Regions from separate parts of the Homo sapiens genome. Here region 1 is linked to region 2. Evidence: promoter capture Hi-C in 16 types of primary human blood cells and fetal thymus (Javierre and others, 2016). All regions are on one chromosome and are shown on one strand. Each heading gives the region's core, a stretch centred on a gene start or on the middle of the fragment in contact. The rest is flanking DNA. Distances are from core to core; before and after follow the strand shown.

Region 1 (6,355 bases), core at 1,802-4,301, 110 kb after region 2:
GACCTCTCCCTGGGCCCCCAACCTCTGACCTCCTAGGCACTGGCCCGAGCCATGGCTCCTGAAAAGGAAAACCTGGGAACTCCTTCAACGTCCACCATAGGTGATGATGGGCTCAGAGCACCATGGGGTGTGCCCAAGATGATGAGCCCCTCCCTGCATGTCAGTAACAGGGACACACATCTCTGATGCGTGGGGAGGGAAGAGTCTGAGTGTGTGAAGCTGTCTGTCCATGCAGGCCACACATGGATGGGGTGCAAGGACACGGAATGGAGGAAGACAGGACTCGGAGGACTCCCGTCTTACATGGCAATGTTTTTGTTTTTGCATCCACCGCTCTTGTATAAAGAGCAGTCTTTACAAAGTAATACCGCCTTGAGTTAACCCCACAGTTTATCTTGTAATGTGGAACAGTCAGGGTCAATTGAAGATGAGCATCCCCCTGAGGCTGACCCATAGCAGGGGCCGCTGGAGCCAGGCCCTTCGGGGTATTTGAGATTTCTTTAGCCAGGCCTGGGGGGCACTGGCAGGGAGGGCCTCCAGAGCTGTTCACAGCCTTTGTCTCCCCTCTGGGAAGGGCACTGAGTGGAGTCAGGTGAGGGGCCCGTGCTCGCCCACCAGGGTTGTTCCAAACACAGGCAGCCAAGCTCGCTGGCAAGCTCCCGGTGCCCTGTGAGCAGCTCTGACGTCGGTGGACAGTGTTCCCAGTGAGTCTGCCGTCAGTCCTTGCGCCCAGCATTGATTTTCCTTCCGCGGTCAAGCTAGGCTGTGTTGTTGGTACTCGCTGTACCTCCAGGTGCTGAGCAAGCTGACCTTGGCCTCCCTGGCCCCACGGCTGCATGAGGCTAATCTCCCCCTACACACCCCACCCCTCTGCCCCCGCCAACACCAGGGCACAGAGGGGCTGGCCCATGGCTTTCTTGAAACGGTGCATTTCATTTCTGATTATAAAACTAAAGCGTGCTTTGGTAGACAGCGTGGTGGATATGGGGAAGGATAAAAGGACATCGACCTGTTCTGACATCCCAGCACCCAGGGCAGGGACCCAGAGGGGAGATTTGGGCATATTTCTCTCCACTGTCTTCTCTGCAGGCATGACACAGGTGTGCACACACACATCCAGCCCACTGACATGTGCGCAAGCATGAACACATGTGGGACACTTGCCCTGCGCCACAGTGTGTGTGAGGCATGTGCACGTCCACTGCCCTCTGTGGAAGGCGTGTTCACACCTGTGCACATACCTGAGGCCACTCTATCACTGCAGGCCCCTGTGCATTTCGTGGGAGGCATGTTCCCATTTCATTAAGAATTCTCAGCTGGGCACCGTGGCTCACACCTGTAATCCCAGCACTTTGGGAGGCTGAGGCAGGTGGATCACGAGGTCAGGAGATCGAAACCGTCCTGGCCAACATGGTGAAACCCCATCTCTACTAAAAATACAAAAATTAGCTGGGCATAGGGACATGTGCCTTTAATCCCAGCTACTCAGGAGGCTGAGGCAGGAGAATTGCTTGAACCAGGGAGTCGGAGGTTGCAGTGAGCCGAGATCGCACACTCCAGCCTGGTGACAGAGCGAGACTCCATCTCAAAAAAAAAAAAAAAAAAAAGAACTATTCGTGATGGATCTACTCCAGGCCCTGCCTTGCCATCACTAGCCACAGAGCAACTCACAGCCAGTGCTCTCCTCACAGGGGTCTGAATGGCAAGGAGTGAGCCCCAGGATGACCCAGGACAAGCGGCAGCAACAGGGTGAGTTCCCAGGATGGTGGACAGGCTGTGTGCAGCTCCCGGCTCTCAGCGGGTACAGAGATCCCAGGGAAAGCCATGAGATGACTCCTGCACTTGTCCTGCCAGCAACCTGCAGGGGTGGGTGGGTGGGATCAAGAGTGACAGCAACCGCAGACACCCAGACATCCCCCAAAAGAGCAAGGGGGGCTCTGGGTGATGTTCCAGAGGGGCAGGAGCGAGGAGGGAGGCCAGGGGCACCGAGGGCATCTCATCACATGGGCTCTGTCCCAGCCACAGTGCTGTCTCTCCCAGAGCCCTGTGTAGCCTCCTGCCCATAGGTGAAGACCCAGCCTCAGCTCCCTGCACGCAGCAGGCCCACGCATCCATCCATCTGTTCACACCAGGAAGCCCAGAGGCAGGTGGACGGCCTCTGTCTTGGCAGTGCAACGTTGCTGGAAGCATCCTCCAAGAGTCACCTAGCCCCACAGACACTGATGGAGGACAGCAATGATGCTTCCTGACAGCAACCACCATTCACTGAGCATTCAGCAGGGGTGGGTGTCAGGGTCAGCCTCCACCACGTCACTGTGGGAACAGCCCCCAGGACCCGCTAACTCATTTTATACATCAGGAGGAAAGCCAGGGAGCGCGACACACTCTCCAGCTACCGTGGGGCCAGCACACTGTCCAGCCACCTTGGGCCAGTGAAACGGAAAAAGTTCCCTTGTTGCCCTAGCAGGGTGTGTGAGAAGGGGAGTGGCTCGCTTCTTCAGTGCTCTGCTGCCCAAACCTCTAGGGGAGCTTACAGACGGGCAGGCTGTGGAGCTCCGACCCCACAGCAGTGTCTAGGGGTGAAGGTTTACAGCTGAAGCCCCAGTGGGCGTGTGTCACGGGGGCTTTTTTAGTTTGTCGTCTGTAGGGTGGCTTGTGTTAGTCAGAGGGCTTTCTGGATCCTGGGGTTCTTGCCTTTGTGTACCAGAAGAGTCAGATCACACGTGGACTTGGAGAATGAGTGCAAGGTTTTATTGAGGGGAGGTGGCTCCCAGCAGATAGGGGAAGCTAGAAGGGGGTGGAGTGGGAAGGTTTTCCCCTGGAGTGGGGCCGCTGTGCACCCGGGCTGTCCTCCAACTGCCCCAGCCAAACTCCGTGTGGTTCTGCCAGTCAGTGGCCTGCCAGCATGCCGGTGCCTATCAGTGCGTTCATCTCGACATCCAGCCGCCCGTGTGTGTCTCCGCTGATGTGTTCCTCTCCACGTCCAGCTGCCTGTGTCTGCCTGCTAAGGTCTCGGGGGATTTTATAAGCACAGGATGGGGGCGTGGCAGGCTAGGGTGGTCGTGAGAAATGCAACATTTGGGTAGGAAGTGCCTGTTCTCACCTAGGTCCGTGGGGTTGGAGCCCTAGTCTGGGACCATGCCCTCCTCTACCCAGCACTTCCCTCCCCTGCTTCCGTATCATTTAAATGGACCACACTTTTCCCTTCCCAGCACTTGCCTTCCCTACCAACAGCACATTCTCTAGCCACCATGGGGTCAGCACACTCTCCAGCTACGTGGGGCCAGCAGCGGCTGGGCTCCAACTCAGGTCTGCACCAGACCCTCATTCTTAAACCCCTGCGTCTCGGCCTGCCCATGTTCCAGCTTCCCCAAGTCTTGACTCCCAATGTCCCAGCCTCCTTGAGGTCTCAGTCTCCCTGTTCCAGGCCTCAGCCTCCCCTGAGTCCCTGCCTAGCCCAGTTCCTACCTCCCACATCCCCTCCCCAGGTCTCTGCTACCATGGCCCACCCAGCTGCACCCCCACCCCACAGGTCTCCTGGGACCCAGGAGGCCACTCATGGGCTAAGCCTGGTGGCATCCGCGTGTAAACCTTGCCCTGAGCACACGCCCGTGGCTGTGGCTGCTGACTTTCACTGTGCATATTAAATGCCATTAAGATGGATGGGATTGGCTTTCAGTGTCCAGAGGACTGCAGCACACGGAGGAACAGCCGCCCTGCAGGGCCTCTCCCCGAGCTCTGGCGGGTGAGCCCTTGTGGGAGGGGCTGGGGAGCTGGGACCCATTTAGGGTGTGGTTGGGGGAGAAGGCAGGAGGCAGGTGGGACCTCCCCCGGAACCTCTCCTGAGACACCCTAAGGGCTGGGAATGGGAGCTACTTGGTGGGGGAACCCAGCAGGGGTTTCCTGTCCCTGGGCTGTGGCCATGACGAGGACCCTCCTGCTGTTGCCTCTCCCAAGGCCACTCGGCCCCTGCTCACTGTGCAACCTTACAGAGCAGCTCAGCCTCTCTGAGCCCCTCTGTCATCTTTAGCCACTGCCCACCAGAGTCCCCTGGGAGCCACTGGCCGAGGCAAGGCTGGGCAGGGGATTGACATAGGCTCTCACTCCTTCAGATGCCCTCAAATGGGATTCAACCCTGTCTTGACTCCTGAGACCTCCCAGCCTAGGCTCTGAGGGTCTGTCCAGACCTGCAGGTAGATGGCTGGGCCTGCAGGGACAGAGGCGGCCGGCAGAGGGCAGCAGAGGGCCACAGAACTGAGTGGCCGGCACTCACCAGGCCGGGATGTGGCCACCCTGCATGCAAGCAGCCCTGCCTCTGCCCTGGGCCTTGTCCCACCCCAAGACACCCCAGGCCCTGGCTAAGCTGTGGCAGGGAGGCCAGGCCTCACCCCTCTCCCTCCTGACACCTGCCCAGCCACTGGCTTGGGCCGCCGCCCTCCAGGCCTCTCCTGCCACCCACCCCAGCACCAGGCCCCCTGATGCCCCTGCTTCCCTCCCAAGGGTCCCTCCTAGACACCATCCTGGCCCAGCCAAGATGCCAGCACAGGATCTCCCCAAAACACTCTGGAGGACGGGTGAGGCTCCAGCACCTTCCAGGTGGCACTCATGATGAACAATCCCAGGGGCCACGCACCCTGGACCCACCTCCCCCAACACAGAGACCCCCAAACAGGCCCTCAGCCATGAGTATGGACACACAAGGCTCCCGGTGTATGGGCAAAGGGTTGACACTGGCTCATAGTGTGGGCACCATGTCACAGGGCGAGACGGAGACTCAGCCCCCAGGGTAGTGGCCAGTGCTGACCTTGGGCTAGGCCAGGGCCTGGCCATGCTGAACCAGGTCTGAGCATCCTCAGAGGCCAGCATCTCCTTGTGGGGTCCCCACAAAGGCAGCCATGGGCTGGGCCCACCTTGAGCTCAGCACCTTGAGGGCCACAGAGCCTCATGGCCCAGGCCACTAGTGGTCCCTTTATGTTCTCTGGTGACAGGAAGCCCCCCTTCCCGTCAGCCCAGTCTGTCAGCCCCCTCTGCCCTGAGGTGAGGCTTCTATGACTGGTGAGGCCCATGGTCCTGGCTCCAACCTAGCATTCCTCGGGACCCACTCCCATGCCCGGCTCCCTGCCAGACCCACACACCCAACCCAGCTAACACCAGCCCCACCCCATCCTTCCCCCAGGGGGGCAGTACCCTCCACTCTCCTTCACTGGTCCCCTCTCTGTCCCCTCTTCCTGCCTCCCCGCCCTATCCACTGGGCCCTCGTTGTCTATCCTCCTTCCACCACTCTTGAGAAACTTCCCGCACATGAGCACCCATCCTTCCCCACACCTGCTCACCAGGCCTGGCTGGGCCTGACCCTCTCCTGAAGTGAGGGCTGCAGCCTGGTCGGCTCAGCTCATCAGCACAGACTTGTTTCTGTCACAACAGCTGGTGAGGACTGAGCAGACCATGGGCTAGCCAGGTCTCCACGGCCTGCCCTGGGCACCGTGATGCTCCAGGGTGGTGCAATGAGGGAGGAGCTGCAGGTGGCTGACAGCTGGCCGAGGCAGAACACGCCGATCGGGGCTGCCCAGAGGGGAGGTGGGCCCTTGGGCTGAGGGAGCCCCAAGGAACAGAGCTGAGCCCTGGACAAGCAGCACCTGAAACCCACCCCACCGGGCTCTCACCAGCCCCATGAGCCCACCACACCCCACCCCACTGCATCCCGGCCAGGCTGGGAGCTGAGTGCTGGTCACTCAGGGTTTAACCCTAATGTCCACCTTGCATTGGGGGTGGTCAGCTTGTCTTTTGATGTTGATGGAGGGAGATGGTGGGGGCGTCCAGCGGGTTCTACCTGATCACAGCCTTTGCCTTCCTCTGGATGCCTCCCCTTGGGAAGCCCTGTAAGAAAGAGGCCTGAGTGCCCCGGGGAGAACCCCACACTTCCCAGAGGAAGTTGGGCTGGGGGCGGCACTGACCCCTAATCTGGAGCCCTGGGCTAGACATTGGAGGTTTTCATGTGTAAGGAGAGGAGGCCCCTAGGAGGCAGAGGAGAAGGGCTGGGAGGTCCCCAGGCGAGGCGTCCCGTGGGCCACACCTCAGCACCTGGCTTCCCCCCTCAGTTGCCAAGAAAATGCCACCTCCCCTGGTAGATGGCAGCACATGGGGCTCCCAATCAGGCGTGGGGTTTGGCAGACCTCTGGATCCTCAAGTCCCAAGTCCTGGTGTGGCGAGTGCGCCCCAGAGCTTGGCTGCTGGTGAAAAGCCTGTCTTCCCAATTATCTGCAGCCAGCTTGCCTCAGGGATAATTGGCTCCCTGCAGCTCCTGCCAAGCCCCTTGCCTCCAGAGGAAGCTGTTGGGGAAGAGGCTGGGCAGCAC
Region 2 (6,079 bases), core at 3,493-5,992:
CTATTTTGAGCTGAATAAAAGTGAAAATGTGACATAACAAAAGTTGTAGGATATAGTTGAGGCAGTGCTTAGAAATTTACAACGCTGAATGCTATATGAGGAAAAAAGGTATCAAATCAATATCTATGTTTCAATCTTAAGACACTAAAGTAAGTAAAGTAAGTTTCAATCTTAAGACACCAAGGAGATAATAAGGATCAGAAATCTCTGAAATGGAAAACAGAAAATAGAGAAAAATCAATAAAACAAAAAAATTGTTTTTTGAAAAGATCAATAAAATTGACAAACATATATTTACTATATGGCTCAGCAATTTCACACCTAGGTATTTATGCAAGAGAAATTAAAATGCACAGCCATACGTGTACTCAAATATTTATAGCGGGTTTATTTGTAATAGCAAAAGCCTATGAGTAACCTAAATGTCCATCGGCTGGTGAATGGATAAGCAAACTGCGGAGCAGTTTGCTCCATCCAATGGAGCAATGGGATGAAATGTATACCCCTCACCTCAAATTCTTATGTCTCAATGCTTGGTAACTCCGAGAGAGGTTTTTTTTTTTTTTTTTTTTTTTTGAGACATGGTCTCACTCTGTCACCCAGGCTGGAGTACAGTGGTGCAATCTCAGCTCACTGCAACCTCTGCCTCCTGGGTTCAAGAGATTCTCCTGCCTCAGCCTCCTGAGTAGCTAGGACTACAGGCGAGAACTAACGCCCAGCTAAATTTTTGTATTTTTAGTAGAGACAGGGTTTCACCATGTTGGCCGGCTGGTCTTGAACTCCTGACCTCAAGTGTTCCACCCACCTCAGCCTCCCAAAATGCTGGGGTTACAGGCGTGAGCCACTGCACCCGGCCTGGAGAGAGGTTCTTTAAAGAAGTAATTCAGTTAAAATGAATTCAATGCAGTGGGCCTTGATCCAATATAACTGGTGTCCTCATAAGAAGAGGAAATTTGGACACAGACATAGAAGAGGTAAGACCATGTGAAGATGCGGGGAAAAGGTGGCCATCTACAAGCCAAGGAGAAGCCTCAGAAGAAATCAACCCTGCTGACACCTTGATTTCAGATTTCTTGCCTCTGGAACTGTGAGGAAATACATTTCTGTCATTTAAGCCCTCCTGCCATACTTTGTATGGCAACCCTAGCAGACTAATACAAATGGAATATTACTCACCAATAAAAAGGAACAAACTACTGATTCACACAACAATATGGATAAACTCAAAAGCATATGCTAAGCGAAATAAAGCAGAGACAAAAGACCACATAATATAAATTCCATATGAAATCCTTAAAGAGGAAAATCTACAGCAAAACTATAGTGGTTACCAAGGGGAGAGGGGAGACCACTGAATGCACAGGGGCATGAGGACATTTTTGGGTCATGGAAACGTCCCATATCATGATTGTGGTGCTGGTTACACAACTGTATACGTTTGCTCAACCTCATCAAATTGTATACTTAAAATTGTACAACTGTGCTGTATATAAATTACACCTCAATAAAACCTTACCCCCCAAAACACTGGATTTCAGATGAGGAGGTAGAGATGAGGACAAATGCTGAGAACACACCCCTAACTGAGGCATGCAGGCATGAAGGATGACGATAGCCGAGGGAAGGAGAAAATGGGCTGAAACAAGGCTCCAAGCCAGGTGTGGGGGCACACACGTTGGTCCCAACTACTTAGGAGGCCGAGGTGGGGGATTTGCTTGAGCCCAGGAGTTGAAGGCTGCAGTGAGCTATGATTGTGCCACTGCACTCCAGCCTGGGCGACAGAGCAAGACTCTGTCTCAAAAAAAAAAAAAGAAAAAGAAAGAAAAACAAAAAAATAGCTCCACAGGTATCAGAATATGGTGTTGGCCAGTGAGGCTGTCAGAGGCTACATGGCTTCAGTGTGGGGAGCAAAACCAGCAAGAGTAGGGTAGGGTCTGAGGCCCGCACAGGCCTTTTTGATGGGTATTTCTGGCCACTGGGAGAAGTCCATGTCTAATGTGTCATCATTCTGCAGGGAAAGGAATAAAAAACCCAGACAGTATGCATTGGAATCAGATGCTGATGTGGTAATGACACTAGCAGAGAAGTCAGAACAGACCACACAAGATGTCCCAGGAGACAGAACAACTTGAACTGTGAGTGAGAATGAGACTGTCAAGAGAAAATGCCAAAGCTGATGTGTACTCAGGAGAGTCAACTGGTTATTCAAAGATCTAACAAGCTAATATTTTAGGAATAGGAATAACACATGCATGAGGGCCCTACCACCTAGACGGAGCTGCACAGACACATACAGACATACATACATGCACACACATTTTTTTTTGCTGAACCATTTGAAGGTAAGTTGCAGACATCATGATGTCTCACTCTACAGTCTTCAGCTTGTATCTCCTGTGGATATTCTCTTACATAATCACAGTACTATTATCACATGCAATAAATTTCATATTGATACAATATGACCTAAGATACAGCCCATTTTCAAATTTCCTCTTGTCCCAAACTGCCCTTTATCAATTTTTTTGGATCTATCCCCTAAGCAAGGAACATGCATTGCATTTGACTGTCAAGTTTCTTGAGGACTATAAAGCATTGTGACACACTACAGAAGTGAGGCACAGCTCACAATACACGTTTTGCAGCTGTTTCTAGCTGGCTATAATCTGCCATCACCTCTTTTGAGTGGCAGACTGACAAAATCACAAAATGCTAAAAAAAAAACAAAAACCCAAAGACCCCTTATTCCTCCACATCTTTCACTCTACTGTGCTCTCTTTGTCAACTGCACCCTTCTAAATACAACCATGGGGTGAGGTGGTTGCGGTAGAAAAACAAAATGAGGAACAGAGTTCACAGTCTGTAAAAGGAGGGATCTGGGTCCCATTTGGCTGCAGAAGTTCCCAGGGCCAATTCCTTGCTGAGCCCCCAGATTCTCTAAATCTCCAGGACTCTCCATGAAGGCCCCATGCCAGGGGCTGGGTACAGAGGAAAGCACACAGGGATGTGTCCCCTACCGCCACTCTTAACCAAGTGCTGCAATCCAGCCCTTCCTGAGCTGCTCCACGTGCCCCTGTCTGATTCCAGTCCCAGTAAACCAACCGTGCAAACATCCTGCACCAACCCCTGGCCAGCACGTGGATAGGCAAAGCGACCCCATGTGAGCCGTCAACTACTTTCTCAGATTCCACTAAAACCACTCCTCAGAGCTCCCAGCACAGCGCTGGGCAGAGAGATCCCCAGCAACTGACCCACTGAATTGGACTGGGCGAGACATTCAATAGAGCACATCTCGAGGGCACACCTCGGGCAACATCTGGACTCTTCACTTGGAGCTGTTCCCACTGCCCAGAGCTTCCTGAGGACTGGCCAGCAGGTACCCGGGTGAAGGTCTGTGGAAGGCTGACGATCCAGGGCTGGGGAGGGAATGTGCCAACCCTCTTCATAAAGAAGGAAGAACACACAGCCACTCACCTTGGACCTGGCTTCGGGAAGACCCCAACCCGATATATCCTCGAGATTCTCTTTCAGGGAAAGAGCAGGATCCTGAGAGGAAAGAGCTGGCGAAGGAGAAATGAGTCAAGGTCACGGCTACCAGGCTCACGGCTGAGCTTAAAGCCCACCTGTCGTGGCACAAGTGAGAATCAGAGAGGAGGCAGAACCTGCCAGCAAGGCCAGGTGGGGAACGAGCCCCAGTAGCTAGCACCAACAGAAACAGCATCGAGGAATAATCTGCCTGTGTCTCAGACACTCCAATTCATGACGAAAAGAGCTGCTACCCCCAATCAAGCACGTCTGAGTGGGAACAAATGATTGGGCGCGGGGAAGAAAGAAGCAGGAGGCCAGGAGCGATGGCTCACGCCTGTAATCCCAGCACTTTGGGAGGCCGAGGCGGGCGGATCGCTTGAGCTTAAGACCAGCCTGGGAAACATGGCAAAACCCCGTCTCTACTAAAAATACAAACATTAGCCGGGCGTGGTGGCGCGCGCCTGCAATCCCAACTACTTGGGAGGTTGAGGCGGGAGAATAGTTTGAACCCGGGAAGCAGAGGTTGCAGTGAGCGGAGATCAAGCCATTGCACCACTCCCGCCTGGGTGACAGAGTGAGATTCCATTTAAAAAAAAAAAAAAAGATGCTGGATGCTTCTGGGAAACTGGCCTGATCTCTCTGAGTGTCAATATCCTCAAGTGCAAATCCACAGACATACTGACTACAAGAGTGAAGCTGTACCTGTCTTCTCGGGCTCCGGGGCAGGGATCTCCATGGCCTCCACGGCAGCCTCCCCAGGAGGAGTGGGCAGCTGTGTAGCCTCCAGGATCCAGGGCAGGCCCTGAAGAGCGAGTACTGCTCCTGGGGCTGAGGGGCCTGCAGCGGAGCCCCGCGGGGCGGCCACGCGCTCACAGCTGCACGATCACACGCACGGAGCCCCCTCCCCGCGCCCGGCTGAGGTGGGGTTCAGGCCGGCTCCGCAGATACCCACTCCCCACACCAGGCTCAGCCCCATGCTCGGCGCACTCACGCCCCGGCACACCCCCGCCACACGCTCCTCCCGGCGAACCCGCGCTCGGAGACCAGGGCCAGGCCTAAGGTTCCGCGGCCAGGAGCCATCGGACGCGGAGCGACCAGCGGACAGGTCCCGAAGCGGACAGAGACCGCCGACGGTCTGAGGGACCGGCAAGTGGACAGACCGGACTCCCACAAAAGGACTGCGACTGCCACAAAGAGCAGCAGGCGGCCGCTGCGGGAAAGCGCGCCTGCGCGAAATAGGCGCAAACTACACCTCCCGGGAGCGTTTGCGCCGCGCAGGCGTCAGACTCCATTTCCTAGAGCGAGTTCGGGCCGGTGCTTGCGTCCCGACGCGAACGAGTATCTAGCACATCCTTCTAGGAAATGTAGTTCCTGGGCCCACAGCCGGGAGCTCCGGCACCCACCATGCTCTTGCGGGCGGATGTCGCTGTGTATCTCCGTGTGCGGATCAGTGTAGTGCCGCTGCATGGGTGTCTAATTGCGAGGATACTGGGAGGGCGGTGTCCAGGAACTAGAATTTGTCCTGTTAGTTCGTCCACGTCCCCACGTAGCTGGGAGTCGGGTGGGTTCCTGCCCACATCTGTCTGCAGGAAAGACTCAAGCCCCTGGTCTTACGGATATTGGGAGTGGTGGGTCTGGCCTCGAGGGGTTTTCCAGGGGCCCTGCCCCCACTCCCCCTTCTCGAGCCACATATCTGAGGCCCATGGGCGCGGGTCCCCAGAGGTGGGAGAGCCTTGGCCTAGTCCCCCCAGAGGGTCCTGTCCACAGTTCACCCCTGGGGCGGGAAAGGAAGGTCTGGGTGGCGGCCCAGTCCTGGCGGCACAGAGCTCTGCCATGAACACAGTGATGACGCCAGCGACAGAAACATTGAATATGTACTGAGCACCAACCAAACGCCAGGCCTACTTCAAGAGCTTGGAGTACATTTTTCTGGCAGAATGCTCACAGCAGTCCAGGGAGGTTTGCTAACTACTGTCATCCCATTTGGGAGATGAGGAAGTTGTGGTACAGGTGCGTGGGGTAACGTGTCGCAAATCACACAGCCAGAAGTAGGAATCCAGCACCGAAGTGCATTGCCACATTCCTACTGAGAGGTGGTCCGGGGTGGTGCACACTCCAAACCCTTCAGCCTCCCACCTTAACCGCAGCTTAGGCTTGGCCACAGGCTCTCACGTGACACCTGTCCACTGCCCACATCAGCACAGCTGTGCCCAGACCTCCCCTGCCCAGGGCAGCGCCCGTGTTTGATTTTGTTTTGAGACTGGGTCTCACTCTGTCGCCCAGGCTGGAGTGCAGTTGCACAATCACGGCTCACCGTAGCCTCAGTCTCTCGGGCTCAAACTATTCTCCCACCTCAGCCTCCGGAGTAGCTGGGACTTACAGACATGCACCACCACGCCCGGTTAATTTTTATATTCAGCGCCCATTTTTAATAGCAACCCAGTGAGAGGGGACAGCGTGCTGGCAGTCCTCACAGCCCTTGCTCGCTCTCGGCGCCTAGTCGGCCTTGGCGCCCACTCTGGCCGCGCTTGAGGAGCCCTTCAGCCCACCG

What was found. Contacts are between HindIII fragments. The CHiCAGO score rates a contact against its expected background, and 5 or more counts as called.
Region 1: a contact is called between a fragment that was not itself captured here and the fragment with the promoter of ZNF74 in region 2, in 2 of 17 cell types (M0 macrophages and non-activated CD4 T cells). The highest score is 7.7, in M0 macrophages.

Annotation. Positions count from the first base shown.
Region 1 is chr22:20,283,786-20,290,140 of GRCh38, reverse strand. No RefSeq gene overlaps it. Among named protein-coding and RNA genes, the nearest start is that of RTN4R, 19 kb to the right of the region's middle. RefSeq lists a silencer at 4,251-4,320 and an enhancer at 5,729-6,355. The HindIII fragment of the contact is 7,595 bases long and covers 1-6,355 here.
Region 2 is chr22:20,392,814-20,398,892 of GRCh38, reverse strand. It overlaps ZNF74 (zinc finger protein 74), which reads right to left and starts at 4,742. Exons shown (of 5, transcript NM_003426.4): 1 at 4,231-4,742; 2 at 3,475-3,560. The coding sequence starts at 4,264. RefSeq lists enhancers at 4,562-4,701, 5,172-5,241, 4,643-5,632. The HindIII fragment of the contact is 14,387 bases long and covers 1-6,079 here.